3 separate regions of the Homo sapiens genome follow, and regions 1 and 3 are each linked to region 2. Evidence: promoter capture Hi-C in 16 types of primary human blood cells and fetal thymus (Javierre and others, 2016). All regions are on one chromosome and are shown on one strand. The core of a region is centred on a gene start or on the middle of the fragment in contact, and the rest is flanking DNA. Distances in the headings are between cores, read along the strand shown. Region 1 overlaps LOC105373760 (a long non-coding RNA gene). Region 2 holds the start of HOXD4 (homeobox D4). Region 3 has its middle 29 kb from the start of LINC01117.

The links. The method cuts DNA at HindIII sites, captures the fragments that hold promoters and counts their contacts. A CHiCAGO score of 5 or more calls a contact.
Region 1: a contact is called between a fragment that was not itself captured here and the fragment with the promoter of HOXD4 in region 2, in 6 of 17 cell types (naive CD8 T cells, naive CD4 T cells, non-activated CD4 T cells and 3 more). The highest score is 8.7, in naive CD8 T cells.
Region 3: a contact is called between a fragment that was not itself captured here and the fragment with the promoter of HOXD4 in region 2, in 1 of 17 cell types (fetal thymus). The highest score is 5.0, in fetal thymus.

Annotation. Positions count from the first base shown.
Region 1 is chr2:177,140,236-177,144,892 of GRCh38, forward strand. The region is part of intron 1 of LOC105373760 (a long non-coding RNA gene); the gene reads right to left. Among named protein-coding and RNA genes, the nearest start is that of MIR4444-1, 70 kb to the right of the region's middle. The HindIII fragment of the contact is 2,510 bases long and covers 422-2,931 here.
Region 2 is chr2:176,149,166-176,153,463 of GRCh38, forward strand. It overlaps HOXD4 (homeobox D4), which reads left to right and starts at 2,385. Exons shown (of 2, transcript NM_014621.3): 1 at 2,385-2,901; 2 at 3,443-4,061. The coding sequence starts at 2,469. The coding sequence ends at 3,777. It overlaps MIR10B (microRNA 10b), which reads left to right and starts at 1,138; the gene lies at 1,138-1,247. It also overlaps a transcript of HOXD3 not described here. RefSeq lists an enhancer at 2,104-2,837. The HindIII fragment of the contact is 3,668 bases long and covers 1,658-4,298 here.
Region 3 is chr2:176,663,833-176,668,685 of GRCh38, forward strand. It overlaps the pseudogene RNU6ATAC14P. Among named protein-coding and RNA genes, the nearest start is that of LINC01117, 29 kb to the left of the region's middle. The HindIII fragment of the contact is 2,560 bases long and covers 1,125-3,684 here.

The sequences.
Region 1 (4,657 bases), core at 427-2,926, 990 kb after region 2:
AGAGATAATGCTATAAGAGAGGTATGAGTGAAGGAGAGGTTTCTTTTTACTCATGGAGTTAGAGAAGTATTATTGAACAACAAAAAGAACACAGTTGTGATTCAATACTGAAAAGTTGAATTTCTATGGTTATATGATGTGCATTATCTTAGAAAAATGAACTCTATGTAGTACTGAGTGAAAAAGGTGGGTTGATGCAAAACAGTATGTATGTTTATTATACACATTTTACACACACACATCCACATACACCAACGTGCATGTGTAAACCAAACTGCTAACAATGCTAGTCTCTAGTTAGGGGAATTACAGGTGGTTTTTATCATTTTGCTATCTATCATGTCCAATTTTATTACAATGAAGCTTAATGGTGTATTACAAATCAATAAAAGGGGAATACTTGTCCATGGTGACCAAATAAAGCTTGCATCATGCCATGATCAGTGCTGCACTATGCAGAAGCTAATGCTGACATGTGATAGACGATGACCAGGATGCATGACTTGCCCACTTCTTTTCTGATAGCCCCAGCTCTGATTTGTTTCCATTTGACAACACTGAATGAGTGGTACAAAATTATTGTCCCTACCTTTGTGTAATATTCAGAGAACTGAGTAGATGCCTAGAGATTCAAAAAAGGACCAAAATAACCAGAACTCTTGAGAGCGTACCTAATTACACAATCATTAATAATCAATATAGCTTCACAAAGAACTTGTCCTATGTAGATAATAGACAGTCATCCTATTACATAGCAGAGTGGAAGGCCTGATGGATCACAGAAAATTAACTGATGAACCCTAAGCTGGACTTTAGGAAGGCTTTTGATTCTCTCCTACAAGGCATGCTAGGAAAATAGACCAGGAACAGACAACTGTTGATTCATTAACTATAGATTGGCTGGGGAGTTCTAACTAAAGCATTCAAATTGAGGAGACGACAAATGGTGTTTTTGATATCAACCCGAATAACAGACAGAAGAGGCCAAAAAATGAAATTTAGAAGGTAAAATAACAATTTAAGATAAAATTGTACAAATAAGAAACAAAATGTAGATTAAACGTAGTATGGAAAAATGTGTTCAAAGTACACACCTGAATTACAGGAGCTAATTAGAAATTGTTTGCATAGAAATATGACTGTCAGTAGGCATTGCTGTAGCAGTTTAAAATACTGTTTTGACAATGAATACCGAATTAGGACTGACAGACAAATGCATGTTGTCTACACCCATGTTAGCACTTAACATGTTGTATTGCCATTACTTGTTGGCAAATCTTTCTCTCCCTCAAGGTTTTTGTTAAATCTTACTGTATTCCCAGCACCTAGCAGAGTCTGGCAGAGAGAGGATTTTTCAATACATCCTCAGGAATAAATGAGATCATCTCCCATCTTCCTCAGATACCTTAATAAAGCACTAAACTCCCCTCAGAGTGCTATATTTAAAGATGGATATGAATAATTTGCTGAGCATTCAGAGGAGAACTTAAAAAGGTGGGGAGTTGATAAATGAGAATTGGATTTTTCCGTTTATAGAAGAGAAAGCTGGGGGGTAAATTAGTTACAATTTTCTTTTTGAAGAAATCTTACGCAAAAGACATCTTTTTCTATTAAAAATGTCCAAAAGTGTCTGGGTTAGAAGCCCAGATTAGGGAAATGGACCATTAAATATTGGAATGGATAACAACAGAAAAAAAAAAAAAACCTCAACTAAAATATATTTTACTAAATGCTTTCACAAAAGAGCTAGCTCCTGAGCTCCAATGAAGACTCACGTATAAGCCGCTGTGAATTAAGAAGCTGGCCTTTCAACCAAGCCCCTTACGTAAGAGCCAAGACTCCACAATTTCATGATAAATGAGTAACCAGCCATCATCAGAGAGTTTGCACAATTAAACTGACAATTCAAAACTCAATTTTATTTTCATGATATTTATGTTCAAGTTATCATAGAAGTCTGTATCAACAGAATATAAAATATACTATTGATGTATAGAAATTAGATTTCTGGAAAATCCCATACTTATTTCTTCATGTATATTTGCATAGATTTCTATTTTTTTATTAGCTGGTTATTTCTTAATTGAGAGTGTTCTAAATAAAACCTGATATTAAATACAATATAATTATTTCAGTTCCAAAATACATCCAGTATACCCAGTAAATATGGCTTTAGTAAGAAATTGTGAGAAAAGAATCCCACTCTAATTGATTCTCACCTATGTATCAAATATTATTTTGTTCTATTCTTCAATCATTATTTTTTCTTTTTTTTTTAGCTGGGCAGCTCCCTAAACCAGAATAGGTTCAGAGCAACTCCTGGTCATCATTTTTTATTTGCAATATAAAAACTGTTATATATTATATTAATTATAATTTATAATTATAAATTATAATATAATATATTAACTGTTCTAATAACCCATTTGTCACTATAAATAGCCTTTGAGTTTTTCTTCCATTCCAAAAAGGAGTAAAAGGTCCCCCAAACCAATTGATTTAACACCAAATTTAAATAAACCCAAAGACCCTCTCACTTTTCACATTGAGTAGAACAAGGTCAGACTGGGCATCTTCCAAATGTAAAGGCTTAATTGGACTAATTCTTTCATGATAATAATGTATATTTAAGATAGCCACTAAAAATTGTCAATGCTAATTTAGTAGATCAATTCCATTAAATGCTTTGAACTTTTCACCACTTGCTAATCTCATCTATTACAGCTGCTGTTTTTGTTGAAAATCTAAGCTATAACTTAATATCAAATTACAACATTTCTAGGCAGACCTAAAAAATACTTTCTTATATGTGAAATATAACCTAAAAAGACTGTAAGTTGTGTAAATTGTAAGATTCTAGCCATAAAATTTCCTGCAGTCAAAATGCAGAAAGATCTTATCAATCTATTGGCAATTGACATTATGGTAAGAAGCTTATGGGTTTTTTTTTAACATCTTAGAAATAAATGTTTTATTGTATCTAAAATAAAGCTTTAACATTTGTGATTATTGATTGTAGACCCACCTTTATACACTAAATGGTTCAGACTGTAACATCAAACATAATGTAATTTAGGTAATACTTCAACTCACGTCAGTAGAAATGCCAAGGTTGTGCTCAACATTTAGGTGAACAATGTAAGGAATATGCTCATTAATGTAAAAAATAATATATTTGTTATTTAGCTAATGAAGAATTTTGAGACCCCAAACCACTATCGAATATCCAGCATGCCTTATTTGTCTGGAACTAGACTTCTGAGGCTATTTTTATTCCCTGTGATTTACCACCAGTATCCTCTGGGTGATAGTTGAGGAAACAGATGCTGGGAATCTCTCTGCTCAGTTCCTGAGAGGAGAGTTCTGACTCACAGCCTTGCCAGCTCCCTGCTTTGTACTCACATAAGCAAAGGGTGGTGAAGTAAAACGTAAATGACTGCCTGATTTCCAGTCTCTCATTGCCAGTTTCCTCAAAGTTTCCACTTACGCATTTGCCTCCCTTACCAATTTCGTTTGAAGTTCCTTTTCCAAAATCCTGAACGGCATGTTCCCAGGATACATTTACTTTTTCAAAAAAATTCATTCAGTGGGGATTTTCCAACTGAAATTAAAAAAAAAAAAAAGGAAGACTGGAGAGGGGGCATTCTTTTTTTTCGGCTTTTTCATTTACTGTCAATTGATTGTATTGATATCTGCAGAAGGAAGATGTAGATTTTTTTAAAAAAATTGTAAAATGTTCCCCTCTAAGCTCTAAGCACATTTTTCTTATGGAAAATCATAAACCTTCCTAAAAGTTTCCTGTATTCTGTTATTTATTGTGAAAGGATTTAAACTAACATAGATATGCTTCCATTTGGAGATTATACTTAAATTGTTAGTTTAAAAAAATTAATCTTTATTAAATGTCCACAAGGTATAGAGCATTCTTCTTTCTTTGTGCGTCTAGGCTGACAAAAATACACAGGGGGAAGAAATCTATGAAGTTTAAATACCTTTTATAATGAATTTAAAACAGAAGCATACGCCACATTATAGACTGAGAATTCAATTTCACAAGGCAGCAGTTTCTCTTAAAACTATTATTTTAGGTCGGGCGCGGTGTCACGCCCTGTAATCCCAGCACTTTGGGAGGTCAAGGAGGGTGGATCATGACATCAGGAGTTCGAGACCAGCCTGACCGTCATGGTGAAACCCGTCTCTACTAAAAATACGAAAATTAGCCAGATGTGGTGGCACGCACCTGTAATCCCAGCTACTCAGGAGGCTGAGGCAGGAGAATCACTTGAACCTGGGAGGAGGAGATTGTGGTGAGCCAAGATCCTGCCCCTGCACTCCAGTCTAGGTGACAGAGCAAGACTCTTTTTAAAAAAAAAAAAGCTATTATTTTACAGAGAAATTAAATTCACTGGCCAGAGTATGTTTTTACAAAGTTTTTCTTTAAAAACCTACCTTTACTTTATTGAAAACAATGGGACCTATATGGATAATTTTCTTTTTTTTTTTTTTTAGCTGGAGTTTCGCTCTTGTTGCCCAGGCTGGGAGAGCAATGGCGTGATCTCAGCTCACTGCAACCTCTGCCTCCTGGGTTCAAGCGATTCTCCTACCTCAGCCTCCCGAGTAGCTGTGATTACAGGCATGCACCACCACGCCTGGCTAA
Region 2 (4,298 bases), core at 1,135-3,634:
TAGGCCCAGTGTCCCAGGAAGGTGGATACTTGGGAGTCTTTGGCATTCAGGGAAATTGGGGGGACTCTCCTGGGATAAACAGATTCTGCAGCCTCATAGCCCTTGTTAGAACTGGCGCCCCCAAAATCCCTACGAAACAGGTAAAGTGGTGGAAGCAAAGGATGGGGGGATGAGCAAAGTGCCAGGCTTGGAGGGGGAGTATCCCTGCCCCACCCCACCAGGCCCAGGCCCAGGCTTGAAACTAAATTTTGAATTATGTGGGAGGTAGGAAGGGCAATCAAGACAGTTAAAAAAAAATCTAACACCTTCAGCCTACAGTTAGGCACCCAAAAGCCCCACTCGAGCCAGGGCATCCCTGTGCCCCTGAAATCCATCGAGGCTCTGAGTGAGTCTGCGCTCTCCATGCCCTGAACTGAGGGACAAGCACTGCACAGTGCCGAGGCGCTGGGGCGGGTGAAATTTGTGAACTTTTGTACTCTTGTGTGCTGCTGTCGGCAAAGCAAAAATAATGAAAGTTTGTGATATGTTTGTAAATGATTTCGAATGACCCCTCGCCCTGCCCTTCACCATTAGCGCGCCGGCCTCAGCCCAAGGCGGCTCGGTGCCTGTGAGCAGCGCCTGCCTCGGGGTCTGCAGCAGCAGCGGAACGGAGAGGCCAGCCCGGATCAGGGCCCATGAAGGTAAATGCGCGACTTCTTGGAGAAGTAGCTTTGGCAGACAACCTGGCTTGGTCGGGCAGTAGGAAAAGGAGTAGACACAGGATATTCCCCTCTCGCTTCTTTTTCTTCTGCCGCTGAGGGCATTTGTTCCTTTCTGGAAAATACCACTTGGTAAGGAGGAGGGTTATTTGGATCCTGGTGGGGGAGGGTGGTTAATAAAGCCGCCATCCTTGGGATGGATTATTTTTCTTTCTTTCTTTCTTTTTTTCTTTCTTAAGAAGAATATTCTGGTTGTTCGCCTGCTTGGTAACCCTGACCCTGGCAGAAGAATGAGGGAACTCATTGCTTCAAATTGTCGCCAAGCCCATTAGGCTACCTGAACTGTCTCAGAAAGTGCGGGTGGCTGCGTCGAACGGTGGTGGCTCAGAGGAAGAGATTGGGGCCGGCAGCGACCTAGGTACCTCACTCTGGGTGGGACCCAGAGGTTGTAACGTTGTCTATATATACCCTGTAGAACCGAATTTGTGTGGTATCCGTATAGTCACAGATTCGATTCTAGGGGAATATATGGTCGATGCAAAAACTTCACGTTTCTTCGGAATAGCCAGAGACCAAAGTGCGACATGGAGACTAGAAGCAGCCGGCGCTGGTCAGCCGCCTCGTTCTGTTTTATTACCTTGGACTCCAGGAGGATCAGCTGCGCCTGGTGACATAGAGCAGCTTTTCCTCTCCAGAAGCTCCTCACCTTTAAACAGAGTATCCTCTGGGTGCTGAAAAGAAAGAAAGACAGAAAGAGAGAAAGAGAGAGAGAGAGAGAAAGAGAGAATGCAAGCCTAATTGGTTGCATGGATGCAGGGCCAAAGGGCTAGGTTTTGGGGTACTAGGGAGTGAGGTACAAGGCCAGCTTGCCCAGTCCCAGCTCTGCCCTCCAGGAACATGAGGTGCAAAGGTACCCAAATGGGGGCTTGCTTGTATTTGGGGCCTGTGGGAAGAAAGCAAGCTTCAAAGAAGCCCAGTGGGGAGCTCTAGGGTGCATTTTGACAAGGTGGAGGTGCCCTTGCCACCATCCCAGCCCACCCCCAGCTACATGGGCAAGGGCAGCGAGGGCCCCCTGCTATTTTGGCAGGGCCCAGCTTTGGCTGGGAACCCCCGGGCCTGGGCACTGGTAGAAAGCATGGCGGTTACTCATTGCCTAATTTGATTCAAGCTGGCCAGATTCTGGTAACTTTTGGGTGACCCTGATGAAGACAAAGCCAGGACGGCGGCCTTTGTATGGCAGAATCCCTGCTCCCGCCGGCTGCAGGCAGGGCGGGCAGGCAGGAACCCTCCTCGCCTGGGGCACTCTGCCCAACTCAGAGGCGAGTTCACCCACCCACCTTTCATTGCTCTGTACCCCAATAGGAGGATTCATTCTCCCTTGAGCTGTGCCTACTTGGTGTCGGGGGGCGGGGGTTGCATTCAGCTGGGGGTGAGTGGAAGGGCCACGGAAGGTTGGCAAAATCAGTGGCAGACAAAAGCTGGGATTACCTGAGGGGAATGGGGTGCTGGGGACTGGAACTACATTAATATCTGGCAGGGGCTCTCAAATGTGCCATAGCAAGCTACTTGATTACACGTATGTTATTTAGTTAAATTTGTGAAAATTATGAGATGCTCACCAACCCGGTGATAAACTTGCTCCCTCGCCATTGGCTGGCCTGGTCACATGGCTGCCCAACTTTATTCAGTTGACAGCAAGTAGGAGGGCCCTATGGAAGGAGAAAAAAAGACAACACGAGAAAAATTAGTATTTTCTACCTTCTGAAATTAATGGTCATGAGTTCGTATATGGTGAACTCCAAGTATGTGGACCCCAAGTTCCCTCCGTGCGAGGAGTATTTGCAGGGCGGCTACCTAGGCGAGCAGGGCGCCGACTACTACGGCGGCGGCGCGCAGGGCGCAGACTTCCAGCCCCCGGGGCTCTACCCACGGCCCGACTTCGGTGAGCAGCCTTTCGGAGGCAGCGGCCCCGGGCCTGGCTCGGCGCTGCCTGCGCGGGGTCACGGACAAGAGCCAGGCGGCCCCGGCGGTCACTACGCCGCTCCAGGAGAGCCTTGCCCAGCTCCCCCGGCGCCTCCGCCGGCGCCCCTGCCTGGCGCCCGGGCCTACAGTCAGTCCGACCCCAAGCAGCCGCCCTCCGGGACGGCACTCAAGCAGCCGGCCGTGGTCTACCCCTGGATGAAGAAGGTGCACGTGAATTCGGGTAAGGCTAGGGTCCAGTAACCTTTCTGTCCACATCCCAGCCCGTTAGCCTGGGTCCTCTGGAAGGGGGTGCGAGTAGGTGGGGGCGTGTGGAGCTTCCATGGGCGCCGCAATTACTCTCCCCATAAATTTTTATAGCTGAGGGAGCAGGTCAGGACCATGTGGCTGGCTGCTCGGCTGTGGGCGCAAAAGGGGGTGGGGATGGGGGGGTGGGGGAGGACTCCATTTTCAGAGCAGGGGGAAGGCTGTGGAGGAGCGGGGGATTTCCAAAATGCTTGAGGGTTCCGGACCTGGTGGTGGGCCCAGAAGAAGGAGCACATTTGGGGATCCCGCAAGCCTGGGGTATGTGGGTGTGTTTGAGGAGGTGGGTGGGAGTGAGCGTGTGCGCCGGGGAGAGGGCGGGAGGGAGGAAGCAAGCGAGCTTGGGAGCGCGCGGGGAGGGCCGCGGGCCTCGGGGCGCGCCAGGAAGTGAGCGGCGGAGGCGAGGGGCCTAACTAGTGGCCGGGCGCTGACCTGCCTGTCCTGTCTGTTTTGTCTCGCAGTGAACCCCAACTACACCGGTGGGGAACCCAAGCGGTCCCGAACGGCCTACACCCGGCAGCAAGTCCTAGAACTGGAAAAAGAATTTCATTTTAACAGGTATCTGACAAGGCGCCGTCGGATTGAAATCGCTCACACCCTGTGTCTGTCGGAGCGCCAGATCAAGATCTGGTTCCAGAACCGGAGGATGAAGTGGAAAAAAGATCATAAGCTGCCCAACACTAAAGGCAGGTCATCGTCCTCATCTTCCTCCTCATCTTGCTCCTCCTCAGTCGCCCCCAGCCAGCATTTACAGCCGATGGCCAAAGACCACCACACGGACCTGACGACCTTATAGAAGTGGGGACCCTGGGCCCATCTCTCCCTGCGCACCAGGCTGAGCCGAAGCTGCGGGGGCAGGCCGGGCCTGCTGTCACCTCGCTGGGCTCTAAGGTACTGTGGGGTGGACCTGGGACAAGCAGGCCGCCCTCGGACTAGGTTAGCATCCTGCCCGAGGGCAGCCCCCTCCCTAGAGCGGGATGGGGATGGGAGGGGGGGCGGGATTCTCTCTCTAAGTATATTATATGGCAGGAGCTACTGAGAACATAAAATCTTGGCGAGTCATTAAACTTATGAAAATCACCGCTCTTGGATTTTGAATTTGCAAATGAAGGTTGGATGCTTTATCCCACTGTGAATTTGGACATTCTCCCCCACTCCACCCCTCCAGGGTGCTTTGTGGCTTAATAATGTGGGGGAGTTGAGGCAGAAGGTTGGCCACCCCTGTGCTAGGTGCTTTCAGTGGAAGCCAGAGAGCTGGGTCAGGATTTCTGGACTTTCTGGGTTGTCTATGGAATTTCATGTGATTAAAAAATATAT
Region 3 (4,853 bases), core at 1,155-3,654, 510 kb after region 2:
AGGATGAGGGTTGCTTCCAGGGTGGAGAAGAGGCTCCTAGGGGTGAATGGCTTGTTGTCCAGTTATATTGTCAACCAGGGTTTGTGACAGCCTGGCTCACTCATATAGAATTTTTACACATAATATAATTCACAGGACTTTAAGTTCCCAAATATCCTCTGTCATCAACAGTTGATTCTAATCTTTTGTTCTAGGAGCTGCATGACCTCCTCCCACCACTCCTGATGTTACTTGTGTGAAGAAATGATTTGATATGCTCTCTCCTTAGCAGGGGGTTGGGAGGGGTGGACACTGAGGACCAGGACAGCAAAATATTATCCTCTAGTCGTATCTCAAATCTGTATCTGTCTGTGACACAGCCAATCCACTCGATCTAGTTATTTTCACAATTTTACATTAGCTCCAGTTATAGAAGCTTGAAAACATTAAAGATATTCTTTACACTGTATATAGAAAACAGATATATATATATAATTCATATATTATATGCAATATATGCATATTTAATATGATATATATATCGATCTGTCTGTCTATATATCTCTCTCACAGACAAAGGTAGAAGCAGAGATGTAAATTCAAGAAGCTCAGAGACATTATTCTGTGTCCTTTTTACTACTTTCCACAAGTAATGGTCTATATCTCCATGAGTTTTCCTTGTTTTTGGAGCCTGAATTGTGCTTTTAGAGACCCTCACTCTGAGGAGACTAACTTTAAGTTTTATTTATATTCATTAACAAGAACATAAAAGCACCCTACCGAGGACCTCTGAAAACTAAAGTTGAATGCAGTGCTCCACACCCTGCCCCTGCGTGCTTGGTTGCAGTAGTCACTTGTGGTCTAGTTTACTTAATAGCTAGAGAGGTTAGCACCCCGTTTGACAAGGATGGAAGAGTCCCTCAGGCCTGACAAATAAAATAAAAAAAATAGCTGTAAAACCAGTAAAGATTGTACTAAATGCTGTCTTGTGAAAAAAATAAAAATAAAAAAAGGATATAAAGAAAAGCCGGAGTATTCTAGCCAGCTGTCTAATTCTGGAAAATCATATAACCTCTCTGGGTCTTGTTTTCTGTGTCTATAAAAGGAGCTTGGAATTTTCTGTGATTCTAAGCAGCTGGGCATTAAGCTTATTGACGACCACACCTGTGGCACAAATGTGTTTTGGAATAGTAGTAGGTGCTGAATTTGTCAGAAATTGTTTGAATGAGGAATGGATGGATAGGGCGAGTTCTGCCCTTCAAGCCAGAAAAAGTGTGTTGACTTTTTTCACTTGAAGGCACCTGATTAGTGTATCAGAGACTAAGCCTGCCCTTCTAGCTTTGCCATGGAATCAGTCTCACTCTGGGACATGGTTCAGATCATACCATGGAAATAGTAAGGGAGCAGGACTACATTTTTGCCAAGGGGAACCCAGAGCAGTGTTATGCTTCCTTCACTGGGAGGTGGAAAATTCCATTGCAATGAGCAAGACCATCTCTCAATGCACAGGATCCACTTTGAGTCTATTTCCAGGTACCCGCCTTTGTTTGATCAAATTTGTTAAAGAGCCTCTTCCTTATGATTTGGCTTGCCAGCTAGATCCATCTACAGGGAGAGAAGAAGCTGGAGTATTTTTGTTCCTGTGACAGTTATACCTCACTGTAAATTTTTTAAAAGGAGAGTAGATTGGGCCAGGTGCAGTGGCTCACACCTGTAATCCTAGCACTTTGGGAGGCTGAGGTAGGTGGATCACGAGGTCAGGAGATTGAGACCATCTTGGCTAACATGGTGAAAACTCCGTCTCTACTAAAAATACAAAAAATTAGCCGGGCATGGTGGCAGGCACCTGTAGTCCCAGCTACTTGGGAGGCTGAGGCAGGAGAATGGCATGAACCCGGGAGGCGGAGCTTGCAGTGAGCCGAGATCACGCCACTGCACTCCAGCCTGGGTGACAGAGCGAGACTCCGTCTCAAAAAAAAAAAAAAAAAAAAAAAGAGTAGATTGTATTAGCATGGAGAGGGAATTTAAAGGGATAGAATGTACTAGAGAAACAGTGAAGGGTAGAGGAGGGGCAGAAAATTGGGCCAAAAGGGCATCACTTCGTAACCCTTAGAGAAATTTCATGGGGCATGGGAATACAAGTTGGAGGTTATTAATATGTCTGTGTTGCTGGTTTGTCCATACACACTTGGTGCAAATATCAACAGTGGATTTGCTTTATAATTAAGGTGGCATTTTGCAATTCACCTGTAATAAAGAATGTGAGTAGTTTATTAAAGATTGGTTTGTATAGTGAATAGTATTTATTGCAAATAAATAAGAAGCACAGTGGCCTCACGCAGAATGAGTAATAATCTGTTTAAAAATGGAGCTAGCATGAAATTGCTGAAGACATACCTTGATCGAGCATTATAAAATCTCTTCTTTATGGAAATATCTCTGTATTTATAGATTGACCTACTTCTGTATACTTCTAGTTGGACTTGTACTAATGATGGAAGAACTTGAACGTTTCAAAAGTTGAACAGTTTTACAGCGACTTCTGACAAGATACAAAGCATTTGGTAGTTAAGGGGGATATATACTTCTTAAAGGTCATTTTTAAACGTATTGAAACTATTAAATAAGTGTGTAGATTATATCCGTCTCTTAAACCCCAAACTAAAAATCTTCAGGAAGCATAAACACAAATTCCCTCAATCGAAAAAAGGCTGCTTAGCAGACTAAGAAGAATATAATTAAAGAAGCCCATTTTAGGCATATATGCAATTATTTTAAGATATGTTTATAATTTGCATTTAGTAGCAAGATCGGGTTATTAAGCGTACAACATACCAACCTTAGTAATCACGTTAACGAAATAAAATGTCTAGAAACTTTAGAAAGTTGATTAGTAATCTACATTTTGTACTAATTATGGAGGGGCACATTATAGCTTATAAATACACAAGATAAAAATCCCAAGTTTCTGAGTGCAAAAAAATAAACTTTCATATATTTTGACAAGCATTGCCTGGTCTGAACTATTTATAATACTTTAGAGTGTACTAGCACTTTTTTGGTAATATAAAAAGTAATAGAATCTTAGTAATATGAAGTCCCACTAGAGATATTTGCTATTAAATTGTTGCTGAGTGTGCTGAGGTTTGGGGGAGAATTATCGAGTTTGCAGATTAGCAAAGCAAGTTCTGGCAATGTTTTAAAATTGAATCAGTGATGCTTTAAAATGGGATATATTTTAAGGATTCACAATAAGAATTTAAAAATAGATGAAAAGATGGGTTTGTTATCGTCAAGCAGTGTATGTTAATTAGTGTCTATATGCAAACTAATTTTATGTTTGTCTCCAGGTTTAAGTGTATACAACAAGCAAAGGGTTAAGGGTGAGGCAGAGTTCAGGAAAGAATAATTAAAAATGAGAAGTGACATTAATTTTAAATAAGTGCTTTCCCATTTTCTGCTTTCTTTTTAATTTTTAAAAAATCTTTCCCTTTCAAGCATTAGCAGAGCTGCAAGCACAGGATGGCCCAATTTTGTGAAATTAGGCCTTTGCCCATGTTTCTAATTCAGAATTGGATGTACTTTAAATGTCCCCCTGAGTGTAGCAGCTGAGAGTCCTCTTCTCTCCTGGGTACTGTAATCTTTGGTGGGGTCACTAAAAGGAGGGATATGTCACAGGTAACCTTCTACCACTTGCTATGGGGAAGCTTTCTTTTGTGTTCTTTCAGATTTGAGTAAAGTTGCCAAACATGATAAAACTGCTTGATGATGGCAGAATTGTTAAGTCTACTCTTAACCCTGTCCACCAGTTTACCAATGAAAAGGTCAGTGGCATGCAAAGAGAGGAATTCTTTATAGCTGCCAAACAACTGGTTTAATTCACCTGTGTTCCACCCTAGAAGTACTCGGAGATAGCTACTGGAAGGTCAAGAAATAAATCCTTGTAGTTGGGAAGTCATAATTTTCAACAATCATCTTCAATTTATTTTGAAGCAATTATTTAAACCTGAATTAGTTGTTAAGTCACATATAAGATAGGTAGTTAGCTTGTATGGTATAATTATTCAAAGGTAATTTGTAATTAATTATGAAATACCTTTACTAGAAAAATAAGTCCTATATAAATTGAACTAATTTTTATGGTACTAGTAATATTACTATACCTATTAGAGGTGGAGCCTATATTAACTATTAACATTAATTAATGTTACACTAATAACATTAACATTAATAACAATTAATAACATTAATTGTTGTTACAGGATAATTTTAGATTTGCAAGGATCCTGAGAAGTTATCCAATTTAGCTTTTTACCTTCAGAGAGAATTAAGCTAAAGCTCCACCTGTTCCTTGAAAATGATTCCTTCTGCCCTAAACCTTGGAGAAGCTTTTCTTCCTTTGAATTCTGTGCTGTATCTGTGCTGGACATTTGGAATTTAGCATTGATTACTCTGTATTGCAATTTTATGTATGTGTCCTATCTCCTGAACCAAAGTGTCAGACCCTTTCAAATTAAAGACTGGAATTGAACATTTTGGCCCACTTCCCGCATATGCTAAGGCAGTGGTCTATGATGGAAGATGTTCAGTATGCACTGAGGAGATTGATCTAAATTTATCTTGAAAATCATGTTAGTCCTTAACAATCTTCTCTTGGTATTTGATCAACAACTTGAATTAGAAAGTATCAGAGATGTTTGGGACATTAGATATACTCTAATCTAATCCCTGTTTTACAGATCACAAAACTGAGTAAGGGCCAGAGAGCAAAATCAATTGCCTAAGACACATTGCTGGTTAGTCGACAAGAACCCTCTTTTTAGGATGCCATCTGATATTAATACCAATGTGTATGCCCTACATTAGGGTCTAAC